Linked DNA regions of Homo sapiens: all the other regions are linked to region 1. The links are contacts of gene promoters, found by promoter capture Hi-C in blood cells and fetal thymus (Javierre and others, 2016). All regions are on one chromosome and are shown on one strand. The core of a region is centred on a gene start or on the middle of the fragment in contact, and the rest is flanking DNA. Distances in the headings are between cores, read along the strand shown. Region 1 holds the start of VPS45 (vacuolar protein sorting 45 homolog). Region 2 overlaps MRPS21 (mitochondrial ribosomal protein S21). Region 3 overlaps CA14 (carbonic anhydrase 14). Region 4 has its middle 25 kb from the start of ANP32E.

Region 1 (3,353 bases), core at 439-2,938:
TTTCTTAAAAAAGCACAGAAAATGGGGAAAAATCTTCTATACTGCAATCTAAATTATAGGTAAGAAAAATAAAAACCAAGTGACATAGGAGATTGGCAGTGAATTTTCAAATATCAGTAATTTACAGGATTTACAGGATTTTCATTAGCGTTGTTTCCATGTTTTCTGTAAGATACGAACATTTAAATTGATAAGAATGGAATGTTCATATAACATTTCTTGTATCCATTTAAAGATTCACATTTTCACTTTAATATATAACTTAAGACTTTTCTTTCAAAACACATCTAAAAATTAGTAAAATGCCTAAAGGGAAGCTTTATTTACTTGGTAGAAAAGCTGAAAGAAAAAAAACATATTCTTCACAATTTCAGAGGTGACAAAAATCTCTTATATTTCAGTAGTTTCTGATCTCCCTTAAGGGATTTGAGAATTATATATAATATTGCATAATCTTAAGCTGATTAATGTTAAAGTGCTATTGGTCTATTTTAACTGTGTACTTCTTAAAATATAATGAAAGAATTTATTTGGTAATCCTGAATCTATTGACCTCACAAACACTGGTCATTATTTTGGTGGAAATATTCATAAGCATTTTTAGTTACTGATTTCTAACAATTGTTTCTTATTATCTTCCTGATTTTACAATTCCCCAAAGTAAAGGTGCGAAAAACAAACATCTACCCTCCTTTTCGACAAATGCCATGATAGAGGGGAGACCTGTGTGGTGTAAAGACAAATGCAGACATTTGGAAGTTGATGGTTTTAAGATTCAGTAAAAACTTGAGAGTTTTGGCTTCAAATCCCCACGCTAGTTTTAGTTCTACCGGATACGTGTCCCCTACCCATTTCAAAGGACCCAGTCACCTCGGCTCTTGCCTGAGTTTCAGAGTCCCGCCGGAGTTAGAGCTGGCAGAGTCCAATTGCTCAGAGCGCCGAGGCGGGGGCGGGGCAGGGGGACGCTTGCAGGTCCGGTGGTCCCGCGGGCTGCGAGCCCCCACGGCCGACCCTAGCTGCAGACCCTCCTGGAGAACCTCAGGCCTTTCCCCCAGAAACATCCCTAAAAGGCGTTCCCTTTGTTCATTCATTCAACAAATATTTGTTCAATCTCATATGCCCCTCTGTCTTGGGAAAACCAATTAGGGCCTCTGCAGCCTCAACACAGGGGCACTGTTCCCGCCTATTAATGACGCAATGAACCCGGGAAGACGAATCTCGACCACTGTTTCGCAAATACCGCGTGTGATTTATTAAATGCCGTCTCTCCGAGTCCCAAGCGGCCGGGAGCATTATGCCACCTCCCTTGCCCTCATCTCTCACTGCCATGCAAGAAAGCGTTAATGGCAAATAGGGCACGTAGCCACACTCCGTCGTTCCTGCTTCCAAGCAAACCTTGTGCCAGGTTCCTCATTTCGCGAGGCTCCACTCTCTTGGGCTTCAGGCTGCCGCTGGGCCTCCAGCACCAAAGGGCAATAGGGGTCTGAGAGTCCGGGCCTCAGGCATCTTCAGGCCGCAGGTGGGTGGAGAATAACGCCCGCGCGTGGCAGCGGCCCAGGCCGTCTCAGCCGGATTTTTCCATCCCCGGGGTAGGCTTGGTCCCCTGTACACTCCAGCGGAACTACAACTCCCAGCACCGTGGCTGCCCGGACTCCCGGAAGCCGAATCCCGGCTGGGAGGAAGCAGCTGAGACCCGGCCAACAGACTGGGGGTTAATTTAGCCAGAAAAGGGGGCGGGAAGGGCTGTAGGGTACTTGTCAATTCGCCGCCATGAACGTGGTTTTTGCTGTGAAGCAGTACATTTCCAAAATGATAGAGGACAGCGGGCCTGGTATGAAAGTACTTCTCATGGATAAAGAGACGGTGAGTTTGCTTTTGCTCAGCATTTGTGAAGGAACCCTCTCAACCTTACAATTGCTCGTCCCATTCCACTGTAGGACTTAGCATTTAATTAAACATACGAAAATGAGGGTCGGTTTGTGTGGAATTGAAAAGTTGTTTATATAAAGCTTGCCCGGTGGGTTTTCAGTCTACATGGCTCCAGCCACTGCCTAGAGACTACTTCTACCCGGAACAATTTATTGGAATCAGAAATCCTTTTCTAAATGTCCCCGCCAAGAAATCATTAATATGTCAGAGCACTTGGAAGGCTTTGGGATGGGCCTACTGTTTCCACTCAACATTGTGTTTTTAAAGTAAAGCTGTTGGAGCTCAAGCTGAAATGACAGATTATTTGTTGGCCACAGACCAGAAAACAAAACTCTTTAAGGTGATAGAAAAAAATATTTTTGGAAACTTATGGATTGTTCCTGTTCAAAGAGACCATGTTTTTTGTTTTTAATCTTGAAGCTTCAGCTGAAAGGATAGAGCGTATTTTTCATTCTCGTATGTTACCTACCTGTTTGGATGTTCAGTAAATGTTTTCCGTATATTACTATTTAAGTTATCCAGCTAAGTATTAATGAAAAAAGAGGGTTAGATGTGCTACTTGTTTTTATTATTCTAGACTAGCATACTTTTAGTTAATCTTTTGTTTTTACAGACTGGCATAGTGAGTATGGTATACACACAATCGGAGATTCTACAGAAGGAAGTGTACCTCTTTGAACGCATTGATTCTCAAAATCGAGAGATCATGAAACACCTGAAGGCAATTTGTTTTCTTCGACCTACAAAGGTACTGCATAAACTGAGCTTCCATCTGCCCAGGCAGATGCAGAACACTCTGATCTGAAAGCATTAAGAAGGCAAAATAAATTTGTATTATCATAATTTGTGGCATCATAATTATCCTGGTTCATCAGTGTTATAACCTTCATTTTTCTTGTTTTGTTTCCATATTTCAGTTGACCCCTTACAGCCAGTTCTTCCTTCAAGATGTTTTTTAGGTTCACAGCCATTCCCATTGCCACTAATGAACTACTCTTAACGGAGACCCACATTACTTTATTCCTGGATTAACCTCCGTATCTGTCACATTGAACACCATCAACACTTAATTTTATATACAGCTATGAGTGTCTTGAATCTTTGCCACTTTATTCACATTTATGCTCAGGAACCTGTGGTGGCTTGATGTTACTTCCATGATTAAATCTATATTTAGCCCAGCCATTAAAGCCCTACTTTGTTGGTTTGATCTGCCCATGTGTATCCAGCCTTCCTATGTCCTAGGTCTGCTTCTCCTCTATAGCCAGCTAGGCTACTGTTGGAATGAGCAATTCTACATGCTCATTCCTGTTCCTTGTTTTTTTTTTCTTGCACTGATTAAAAGTTCTTTGGCCATTTGTCACTTTTTATCCATCATCTTCTAAATCTAGCTTGAGTCTCTCCTTTAAAAAGCCTTTGCTATT
Region 2 (3,353 bases), core at 310-2,809, 230 kb after region 1:
TGTCTCCCAAAGTGCTGGGATTACAGGTGTGAGCCACCACACCCAGCCCACATACTACTTTTATGGTTCTCTTTTTGTTGGTGACTGGCATTTTACACAAACCTATTTCCTGGGTCGAAGTGTTAATATTAGAGAGCCGGAGAGTGGTCAGTGTGACACCCTGTGGTTTCAACCCTGGCTGCCTATTAGGATCACCTAGGGAACGAACCATCAAGAAAACAAAACTAATGCCAGGGCCCAATCTGAGATGAATCAGAATCTCCAGGGGTTGCAACCTGGATGGCAGCATTTTAAAAAACATACCATGAGATTTCACCAGGATTGAAAATTATTATAATAGACTTGTAGCCTCCTGGCTGGGCACAGTGACTCATGCCTGTAATCCCAGCACTTTGGGAGGCTGAGGGGGGCGGATCATTTGAGGTTAGGAGTTCAAGACCAGCCTGGCCAACATGGTAAAACCCCGTCTCTACTAAAAATATAAAAATTAGCCGGGTATGATGGTGCATACCTGTAATCCCAGCTATTCGGGAGGCTGAGGCAGGAGAATCGCTTGAACCTGGGAGCTGGAGGTTGCAGTGAGCCGAGATCGCGCCACTGCACTCCAGCCTGGGTGACAAAGTGAGACCCTGTCTCAAAAAAAAAAAGGCTTGTAGCCTCCTTAAGGACAGAAACCTATGCTTTTTCATTTGTGTATCTCTTGGATTTACCAAAGTGTCTGGCACATCCAAAGCTCTCATTAAATGTCTACTTAATGAACATAAATGTTCCTTTATCTTTTTTGTCACTTATTTAATGTTTGTCAAACTTTTTTACTGAAGTGTCGTTAACAGCAGAGGAGAGTGAATGAACTATAGGGGTTCTGCTACTATAAGCAAACATGGAATTTCTTTGAAGCTTCCCTAAATTAAAATGTAAGGTGAACTTCGTATTCGTTGCCATTGCATCTGTTTTATGGGTAACACCCCCACTCCTTCGAGTTAAAATTGGTGCCTCCAGGCAGATGCATCAAATTTGTCCAGAAACTTGTATCCTTTGGCATTCTGTTAATTACCCTGGTTAAGAAGCACAGTATTACCTTTTCTTCAGGGATTAAAACACCAAAGTAGGAGTAGGATTTGGAAAAAAGCAATTTACATTGCTTAAAAAGAAAAGAATTATATTCTTTTCTTTTTAAGAAAGAAGAGGAGTGGTTAGAAAAATAAATTTGGCCAGGCGCGGTGGCTCACCCCTGTAAGCTCAGCACTTTGGGAGGCCGAGGCGGGTGGATCATCTGAGGTCAGGAGTTCAAGACCAGCCTGGCCAACATGATGAAACCCTGTCTCTACTAAAAAAAATACAAAAATTGGCCGGGCGCGGTGGCTCATGCCTGTAATCCCAGCACTTTGGGAGGCTGAGGGGGGCGGATCACGAGGTCAGGAGATCGAGACCATCCTGGCTAACACAGTGAAACCCCGTCTCTACTAAAAATACAAAAAATTAGCTGGGCGCCGTGGCGGGCGCCTATAGTCCCAGCTACTCGGGAGGCTGAGGCAGGAGAATGACGTGAACCCGGGAGGCGGAGCTTGCAGTGAGCCAAGATGGCGCCATTGCACTCCAACCTGGGGGACGAGAGCGAGACTTCGTCTCAAAAGAAAAAAAATTAGCCGGACATGGTGGCAGGTGCCTGTAATCCCAGCTACTCAGGAGGCTGAGGCAGGAGAATCGCTTGAACCCAGGAGGCGGAGGTTCCAGTGAGCCGAGATCGCGCCATTCATTGCACTCCAGCCTGGGGGACGAGAGCGAGACTTCGTCTCAAAAAAGGAAAAGAAATTCAAGTCCCATAGACTCAGAGTCCCATAAATTGTATTATAGCTTCGCGGGGCAGGGGGGAAATGAACAAATATTTCAGTCTTAGAATAATTTTCTTTTTCCTTTCTTTTTTTTTTAATACGGAGTCTCTCTCTGTTGCCCAGACTGCGTGGTCTCGCCTCACTGCAACCTCTGTCTCCCGGGTTCAAGTGATTCTCCTGCCTCAGCCTCCCGAGTAGCTGGGATTACAGGCACCTGCCACCACGTCCGGCTAATTTTTTGTAGTAGAGACGGGGTTTCACGATGTTGGCCAGGCTGGTCTCAAACTCCTGACCTCATGATTGGCCCGCCCGGCCTCCCAAAGCGCTGGGATTACAGGGGTGAGCCACCGTGCCCGGCCTCTTAGAATAATTTTCTAGGTAAGGACTTTCAAGCTTGCATACGTGAGCAGACTGATTTTGGAGTGATCCAATCTTCTGTTTTCCTGCTGCCTGTTAAACACATTTTCTGACTGATGCACTTTTCTGTTTCTTCTTTTTCTCTGCTTTTCCCAAATGTCCTCTCTCTAGCCACTTTTTCTGTATATCTTTCTCACACTCCAGGCCTCTCCTGATCTCTTTCAGCTTTCTCATAGCTGGTAGTTTAAAAATAATTTGCTTGTTCTGTGGTCTAATTACAACAATAGGTAGGAGAGCAAATGAGTCTAGAGGGAGGTGATTAAAGCTTTACCATGTTTGGAGTACAGAGAGAGTCTTACAAAGGAAATAGCCTACGTGTCTGTCCAGTGAGGCCACCACAAAATGCCTGTTATATAACTGGGGGCCCTCATTGGTGCCCCGGGATGAGAAGGTGGAGAGTGGGGGTTGCTAGGAAGCCCTGCATGATTGGCTGGCCCCCAAGCAAAGAAAGGTGAGTACACTGGAAGCATGCCCTGTTGACTCCTTTTACTCCTAGTGGGCTACCTTCTGGGTCCATTGAGTCCTTCTGCATACACGTCTGTCCTGACGTAGACTGGCTACACTGACATGTGAGTCTGCCACCCGCACCTCCCCCCGCTCCAGGCAGCTTGGCTCCTTTTACATAATCATTTGAATTTCACTAAAACTGGCAGCTGGTTTCTCCTTCAGTATTAGGTTGCCAGGCGCCCGAACTCCAGGCTGATCTGTTTACTCTAAAGCTCTTGATGTACTAGTCCTTGAACTACTTTTGGAAGCAGAAGGAAGCATCATTAGTAACACCCCCTCTATTCTTGTGTTTTACAAAGCTTTTCTTGCATCCTTTTCTGTTAGAGGTAAAGTTGAGTAGATACCTCTACTATAGGGACTCTGGGGCATTTGAAGATAATCTGTGCCTTTTTTAGTATGACTAGAACGTGTCGGGTAAGGGAGGGAATCCTCACCTGGCATCTTGGAATTTATTTGGTCTGTGTTTTGGAAGTAAGTAGTACATCCAGGGAATGCCATTTACCAACCCCCATCATTATATTCTTTCTTTTCCCTTCACCATTCTTATGTTCTTTTGTTATTCTTTTTCCTTGTCTTGCCCTTTTGCCTGACAGTACA
Region 3 (3,353 bases), core at 440-2,939, 200 kb after region 1:
GGCCTGGCTGTCCTGGGCATCCTAATTGAGGTCAGTAGCCCCCAGTCCCTTCCAGGTTTCTCTCCACTTCCTCTGCAACCCTCAAACCTATTTCTGTTGCTGGCCTCCTTCCTATGGCAGGCAGCAGCCCACCCTGACCATTTATTCTGTACATAAATTTCTTATTCCAAACATGGACTCATTCCAAACTCTCTCCCTTTCCTTCTCTTCCAGGTGGGTGAGACTAAGAATATAGCTTATGAACACATTCTGAGTCACTTGCATGAAGTCAGGCATAAAGGTGAGCCTTAAAAATCTATAGCAGGAAGTAAGATTAGACTTTCAAAAACTATCCTTAAAAGCCTTGGGATGAAGCAATTACATAGAGCCAAGGAATTTTGCTTCTGGGAGCCCTATCTAGGTAAGCTAGGGCACACTGAAAGGAAGATGAGTCCCAGTCTGTTCTCCCCAGATCAGAAGACCTCAGTGCCTCCCTTCAACCTAAGAGAGCTGCTCCCCAAACAGCTGGGGCAGTACTTCCGCTACAATGGCTCGCTCACAACTCCCCCTTGCTACCAGAGTGTGCTCTGGACAGTTTTTTATAGAAGGTCCCAGATTTCAATGGAACAGGTAAGTGGTGGAGAAACGAGGTGAGGTGAGACACAGTTGTAACTTCAGACCCCTTCCCACTCCCCAAAGTAACACCTCTCCCACGCTTCTGCTCCTCAGCTGGAAAAGCTTCAGGGGACATTGTTCTCCACAGAAGAGGAGCCCTCTAAGCTTCTGGTACAGAACTACCGAGCCCTTCAGCCTCTCAATCAGCGCATGGTCTTTGCTTCTTTCATCCAAGGTGATTCTGCACGGCTCAGAAGAGATGGGAAACTGAGGGGGACACAATGGCAGGAACTAGGGAGCCAATGGGAAGAAAAGGCTAAAAGGGGAGGGGGTTTCTGGGACTTGCTTGGACTGGGAACCAACCCCCACCCCAGGGTGCCCCCGGGGGATTCTCCCAGGCACAGCAGCAGAGAGTGCTGCTCCCAGCTGGGATGGGGATCTGAAGTCCCACTGACCCATTTTCTTCTCTTACAGCAGGATCCTCGTATACCACAGGTAAGCCAGCCTTATAAGATAATGCGGGGAGGGGAGGTGTCCTCACCGAGTGGGGGAAAGGCTCAAAATCTATGTTAGTCCTAGGCTGACACCTTTTACCTTTATCTCCCCCAGGTGAAATGCTGAGTCTAGGTGTAGGAATCTTGGTTGGCTGTCTCTGCCTTCTCCTGGCTGTTTATTTCATTGCTAGAAAGATTCGGTGAGGCCCTACTTTCCATTCCTCCAGTCCCTTCTTCTTTTTTTTTTTTTTTTTGGTAGGTGGGAGACGGAGTCTTGCTCTGTTACTCAGTCTGGAGTGCAGTGGTGTGCAATCTCAGCTCACTGCAACCTCTGCCTTCTGGGTTCAAGCAATTCTCCTGCCTCAGCCTCCCGAGTAGCTGGGACTACAGGCACGCACCATCACACCCAGCTAATTTTTGTACTTTTAGTAGAGACAAGGTTTCACCATATTGGCCAGGCTGGTCTCAAACTCCTGACCTCAGGCAATTCGCCTGCCTCAGCCTCCCAAAGTACTGGGATTATAGGCATGAGCCACCCGCTTTTTGAGACAGGTTCTCACTGTTGTCGAGGCTGGAGTGCATGGCTTTATCACAGCTCACTGCAACCTCCACCTCCCGGGCTCAAGTGGTCCTCCCACCTCAGCCTCCTGAGTAGGTGGGACTACAGGCATGTGCCACCATGCCCAGATAATTTTTGTATTTTTAGCAGAGACGGGTTTTCACTACATTGCCCAGGCTGGTCTCCAACTCCTGACCTCAAGTGATCCGCCCGCCTCAGCCTCCCAAAGTGCTGGGATTATAGGTGTGAAACACCTTGCCCAGCCCTCTTTTCTGTTAAAAAGCATTCTCCTATTTCACCTCTAATCTGCTTCACTTAGATAGCAGTCATTCTCATGAGCCATTCCCCTTTCCAGGAAGAAGAGGCTGGAAAACCGAAAGAGTGTGGTCTTCACCTCAGCACAAGCCACGACTGAGGCATAAATTCCTTCTCAGATACCATGGATGTGGATGACTTCCCTTCATGCCTATCAGGAAGCCTCTAAAATGGGGTGTAGGATCTGGCCAGAAACACTGTAGGAGTAGTAAGCAGATGTCCTCCTTCCCCTGGACATCTCCTAGAGAGGAATGGACCCAGGCTGTCATTCCAGGAAGAACTGCAGAGCCTTCAGCCTCTCCAAACATGTAGGAGGAAATGAGGAAATCGCTGTGTTGTTAATGCAGAGAACAAACTCTGTTTAGTTGCAGGGGAAGTTTGGGATATACCCCAAAGTCCTCTACCCCCTCACTTTTATGGCCCTTTCCCTAGATATACTGCGGGATCTCTCCTTAGGATAAAGAGTTGCTGTTGAAGTTGTATATTTTTGATCAATATATTTGGAAATTAAAGTTTCTGACTTTAATTCTGGCCTATCCTTTGAGGCTCTTGAGGGTGGGCAAGTTCCTGAATCCCTCAGGTGGTAAAGATGGGCAAAGGATGGGGAAAAGAAGCATGGGTGATTAACTCCTTTTATCCCACCCCTGGAAGGAAAGATAAGCTTCTGGGAAGACACTTAACCCAAAGTTTCAGACATGTTAAACCACTAGCCCAGATTTCTGCCCTTGCACCAAGGCTATGCTTGGAAATCAGTGGTTGCCAGGTTAGGAAAGTGGCTGGATGAGAGATCTGAGGACAGAAATCTCAATTAACATGCTATCCCCTCCCTTAAAAGCCAAGTTCCCCCACAATTACAAATTCTTTTTTATTAGTCAAAATCACAATCACCTTGATTAAAAGGATGGGACACTCCACCCTCAGCAGAAAATGATACAGTTTATAGAAAACCTCCCCGCCCCTCCCACACCCCAATTAAAAACTACAAAAAAATCTCCCCTCCTTCCCTACGATGTCATGGTAGTCTGACTCCTCCAGTGGCACTGCAGCTCTGGAGTGGCCAGCTCACCACAGCACCCTCCACTTCACCTTGGGGAGAGGAGGGATGCTGGTGGTTAAGGAGGTTAAAACCATTAGTTCCAGTAATGCCAGTTCCCAAACATGCACTTCCTTCCTTTCCCCCAAGGTCTGGGACCAAGGAGAAAGGGACCGAAATGAGCCCAGCCATGAGGAGCAACTCGAGGAGAGAAAATATAGCCCAAGGAGGTTAGAAGAGTTCCAATATACCTCCTCCCTCCCCCCACCTCAAAAAAGAAAAAAAGGCAGTTTAGGGTATTTATCACACCAAAAATGGTTCCCCCTCAGGCCTGAGAAAAAGACCAAGATGTCCAGTC
Region 4 (3,353 bases), core at 337-2,836, 140 kb after region 1:
GTGCTGAGCGTACTGCTGCCAAAGTCAGACAAACTGAACACAACAAATACTAAAACCTCTAGAAAGAATAGTGTGGATCAGGGTAGGTTCCTCATACTTGTCAAACACATAAAATATCCCTCTAGCACCCTCTCCTCCACTTCTATGCTCACCTGAGAGGATTCTGATTGTGCACTTGGCCTCTCAGTTACCTTTCCTAGAAGGGATACACGAGACCTTCACCTAGCAACATGACTACTGCACTTGAAATGTGGCTAATCCAGGCACTTTGGGAGGCCAAGGAGGGAGGATCACTTGAGCCCAGGAGTTTGAGACCAGCCTGGGCAACATGGTGAGATCCTATCTTTATAAAAAGAAAAAAAAGAAGAAGAAAGTAACTAAATAAAAATAAAACTCTGTTAAAAAAAAAAAGAAAGAAAGAAAAGTGGCTATCTGAATTGAGATTTGCTGTAAGCATAAAATCCATCCCAGATTTGGAAGACTTTGCATGAAAAAAATACAAAACATCTTACTAATGATTTTTTACATTGATTACATGTAGAAAGTATAATATTTTGAATATGTTGGGTTAATTAAAATACATTAAAATTAATTTTACCTGTTTCTTTTTAGTTTTTTAAATATGTCTACTAGAAAATTCTAAATACATCTGTGACTTGCATTTTTATTTTATTTATTTATTTATTTCTTGAGACAGAGTCTCATTCTGTCACCCAGGCTGGAGTAGAGTGGCTCGATCTTGGCTTACTGCAGCCTCTGCCTCCCAGGCACAAACAATTCTCCTACCTCAGCCTCCCGAGTAACTGGGATTACAGACACCCACCACCATGCCTGGCTAATTTTTGTGTTTTTAGTAGAGACAGGGTTTCACCATGTTGGCCAGGCTGGTCTCCAACTCCTGACCTCAGGTGATCCACCCGCCTTGGCCTCCCAAAGTGCTGGGATTATAGGTGAGAGCCACCGCACTCCACCAACTTGCATTTTTGACAGAATTATATGTCTATTAAAGAGCGCCAATTTAGAACACTGAACAATAATACCATAAACAATGTAAATATACATTCTCCCTGTAAATTAATAAATTGACAACTTGATTTAGAAATCTGACTTTGGTGAATTTTCACGGCACAAGTCTGTCCCTCACATATTGATCGATTTTGTATTTACAAACTCAAATACATCTCCTTCTATAGCCCTGCAAAATGAAGGATCACGCCTTCACTGAAGTGAGCAAATCAAAGTTTTGGCATCTTCTGAGCTTTCTGGGCACAAGCTGTCAGCTCAGCCATTTCTCTGCCTGCAATTTCGCTCTTGGTTTATAATCTTGGGTTTAGGCTGTTTTTCAAGGGATAGAGTTGGTATCATTCATATTTGTTTTCCTATCACTTATGTTCCTTAAACAAAGGATTTTAAAAGTTTGTTAAATATTCTACATTTTATGCCTTTGATCATAGCTGTAAGACTGCTTGCCTTGAAAAGGATTTGCACATAATTCTCCATGGTTTTTTTCTTAATATGTTAATTGCAAACCGCTTGTAAAGATTGAGTACATGAAGATCTGAAAGACAGCAGTTATTTACAGTCATGTAAAGTAAAAATGGCAAGTGATATCTAATTAATAGCTAATAACCTAATAATATGGAGTGGAAACTTGATAACCATTACAGCACACTGTATTTTATTATCAAGGACAGAGCCTTAGAGACAGACCACAGAATTGATGTTTCATCATTATGCGATGGCCTACATTATATGACCTCTTATTTGTCCCTCAACTCCAATAGCAACCTCAAGGCTGATATAGAATAGCAGTGGAAAGGAAAATAAATGACACAAAAAGAAAAGTAGGTTTATCATGGGACCAATGTAGTGCTTTGGCCTCATAGCAGAGACCAGATGGTAGCAGCTCCTCTCTCAGCAGGTAGCTCTTCAATATCCTACGGGTTGTAAACAACAAATTCACATCATCTCCACCTGCTAATAAGTATTTTTTAAAATATTGCGGCAACATCGAAACAATGCTGAAAATACAATCCCTCAATATAAGAAAAAAAGTTTTCCTAAATATTTAGTCTGTTAAAAGAAAAAGTCTTTTCTGAGAAATGCTATTACCCACTAGAAAATCTTGGCTTCTTAAAATCCAAGAATATTCTCATCTCTTTTTTTTTTTTTTTTCTTTTTTTGAGACAGAGTCTCACTCTGTTGCCCAGGCCAGAGTGCAGTGGCGCGATCTTGGCTCACTGCAAGCTCCACCTCCCAGGTTCAAGCGATTCTCCTGCCTCAGCCTCCTGAGTAGCTGGGATTACAGGCACGTGCCACCATGCCCGGCTAATTTTTGTATTTTTTAGTAGAGACGAGGTTTCACCATATTGGCCAGGCTGCTCTCCAACTCCTGACCTTGTGATCCACCTGCCTCGGCGTCCCAAAGTGTTGGGATTACAGGCGTGAGCCACAGCGCTCGGCCTCTTTTTTTTAAATAAAGTAAATGGCCCTCATTTTACCCAATTTTGTGACTTTGTAAAAGCCAATGAAAATGCCTGAGAAACTACTGACATTAGTTTTACTGCAGTTAAATATTTGTTAACTTTGCCAGGCGCGGTGTCCCGTGCCTGTAGTCCCAGCTACTTGGGAGGCTGAGGCAGGAGACGGCTTGAGCCCAGGAGTTCTGGGCTGTAGTGTGCTATACCGATCGCGTGTCCGCACTAAGTTCGGCACCAATATGGTGACCTCCCAGGAACAGGGGACCACGAGGTTGCCTAAGGGGAGGGGTAAACTGGCCAAGGTCAGAAATAGAGCAGGTCAAAACTCCCGTGCGGATCAGTAGCAGGATCGTGCTTGTGAATAGCCACTGCACTCCACCCTGGGTAACAGACCCTGTCTCTCTAGATAGATAGATAGATAGATAGATAGATAGATAGATAGATAGATAGATAGAGCGTATATATATACATATGCTAATTCTATAGAAACATGTAACTGTCCTTTGACATTTTAATAAAAATTGTGTATACAAGATTTCAAATTTAATTATTCTCTTCTCCTTCCATAGGATCAAAGACATCTTTTGGTTGCACAAGAAAAAGTGAAGCAAATATTCTCTGAAAAGTGACTGATGCCAATAAAACGTATAATTTTTGTATGTTTAATAGAGATGGGGTTTCACCATGTGTTGGCGCGCGCCTGTAGTCCCAGCTACTCTGGAGGCTGAGGCAGGAGAATCGCTTGAACTCAGGAGGCGGAGGTTGCAATGAGCCGAAATCGTGCTACTGCACTCCAGCCTGGCAACAGAGCGAGACTCTGTCACACACACAAAAAAAGTATAATTTGATGACAGTTTTTCTTCAATAGTTTAA

What was found. The method cuts DNA at HindIII sites, captures the fragments that hold promoters and counts their contacts. A CHiCAGO score of 5 or more calls a contact.
Region 2: a contact is called between a fragment that was not itself captured here and the fragment with the promoter of VPS45 in region 1, in 2 of 17 cell types (naive CD8 T cells and total B cells). The highest score is 5.3, in naive CD8 T cells.
Region 3: a contact is called between a fragment that was not itself captured here and the fragment with the promoter of VPS45 in region 1, in 12 of 17 cell types (naive B cells, neutrophils, total B cells and 9 more). The highest score is 10.3, in naive B cells.
Region 4: a fragment that was not itself captured here is called in contact with the fragment with the promoter of VPS45 in region 1 in 17 of 17 cell types (megakaryocytes, erythroblasts, neutrophils and 14 more); the score reaches 21.8 in megakaryocytes.

The regions. Positions count from the first base shown.
Region 1 is chr1:150,066,088-150,069,440 of GRCh38, forward strand. VPS45 (vacuolar protein sorting 45 homolog) reads left to right here and starts at 1,689. Exons shown (of 15, transcript NM_007259.5): 1 at 1,689-1,863; 2 at 2,543-2,677. The coding sequence starts at 1,771. It also overlaps a transcript of OTUD7B not described here. RefSeq lists a silencer at 866-1,105 and an enhancer at 1,316-1,645. The HindIII fragment of the contact is 1,692 bases long and covers 316-2,007 here.
Region 2 is chr1:150,299,707-150,303,059 of GRCh38, forward strand. The region is part of intron 2 of MRPS21 (mitochondrial ribosomal protein S21); the gene reads left to right. Among named protein-coding and RNA genes, the nearest start is that of MRPS21, 7.5 kb to the left of the region's middle. The HindIII fragment of the contact is 1,328 bases long and covers 896-2,223 here.
Region 3 is chr1:150,262,591-150,265,943 of GRCh38, forward strand. CA14 (carbonic anhydrase 14) reads left to right here. Exons shown (of 11, transcript NM_012113.3): 5 at 1-30; 6 at 214-280; 7 at 452-609; 8 at 709-829; 9 at 1,069-1,089; 10 at 1,204-1,288; 11 at 2,003-2,488. The coding sequence ends at 2,069. APH1A (aph-1A gamma-secretase subunit) reads right to left here. Exons shown (of 7, transcript NM_001077628.3): 7 at 2,814-3,353. Among named protein-coding and RNA genes, the nearest start is that of SNORD13C, 2.6 kb to the left of the region's middle. The HindIII fragment of the contact is 1,864 bases long and covers 758-2,621 here.
Region 4 is chr1:150,209,044-150,212,396 of GRCh38, forward strand. It overlaps the pseudogene RN7SL480P. Among named protein-coding and RNA genes, the nearest start is that of ANP32E, 25 kb to the right of the region's middle. The HindIII fragment of the contact is 5,688 bases long and covers 1-3,353 here.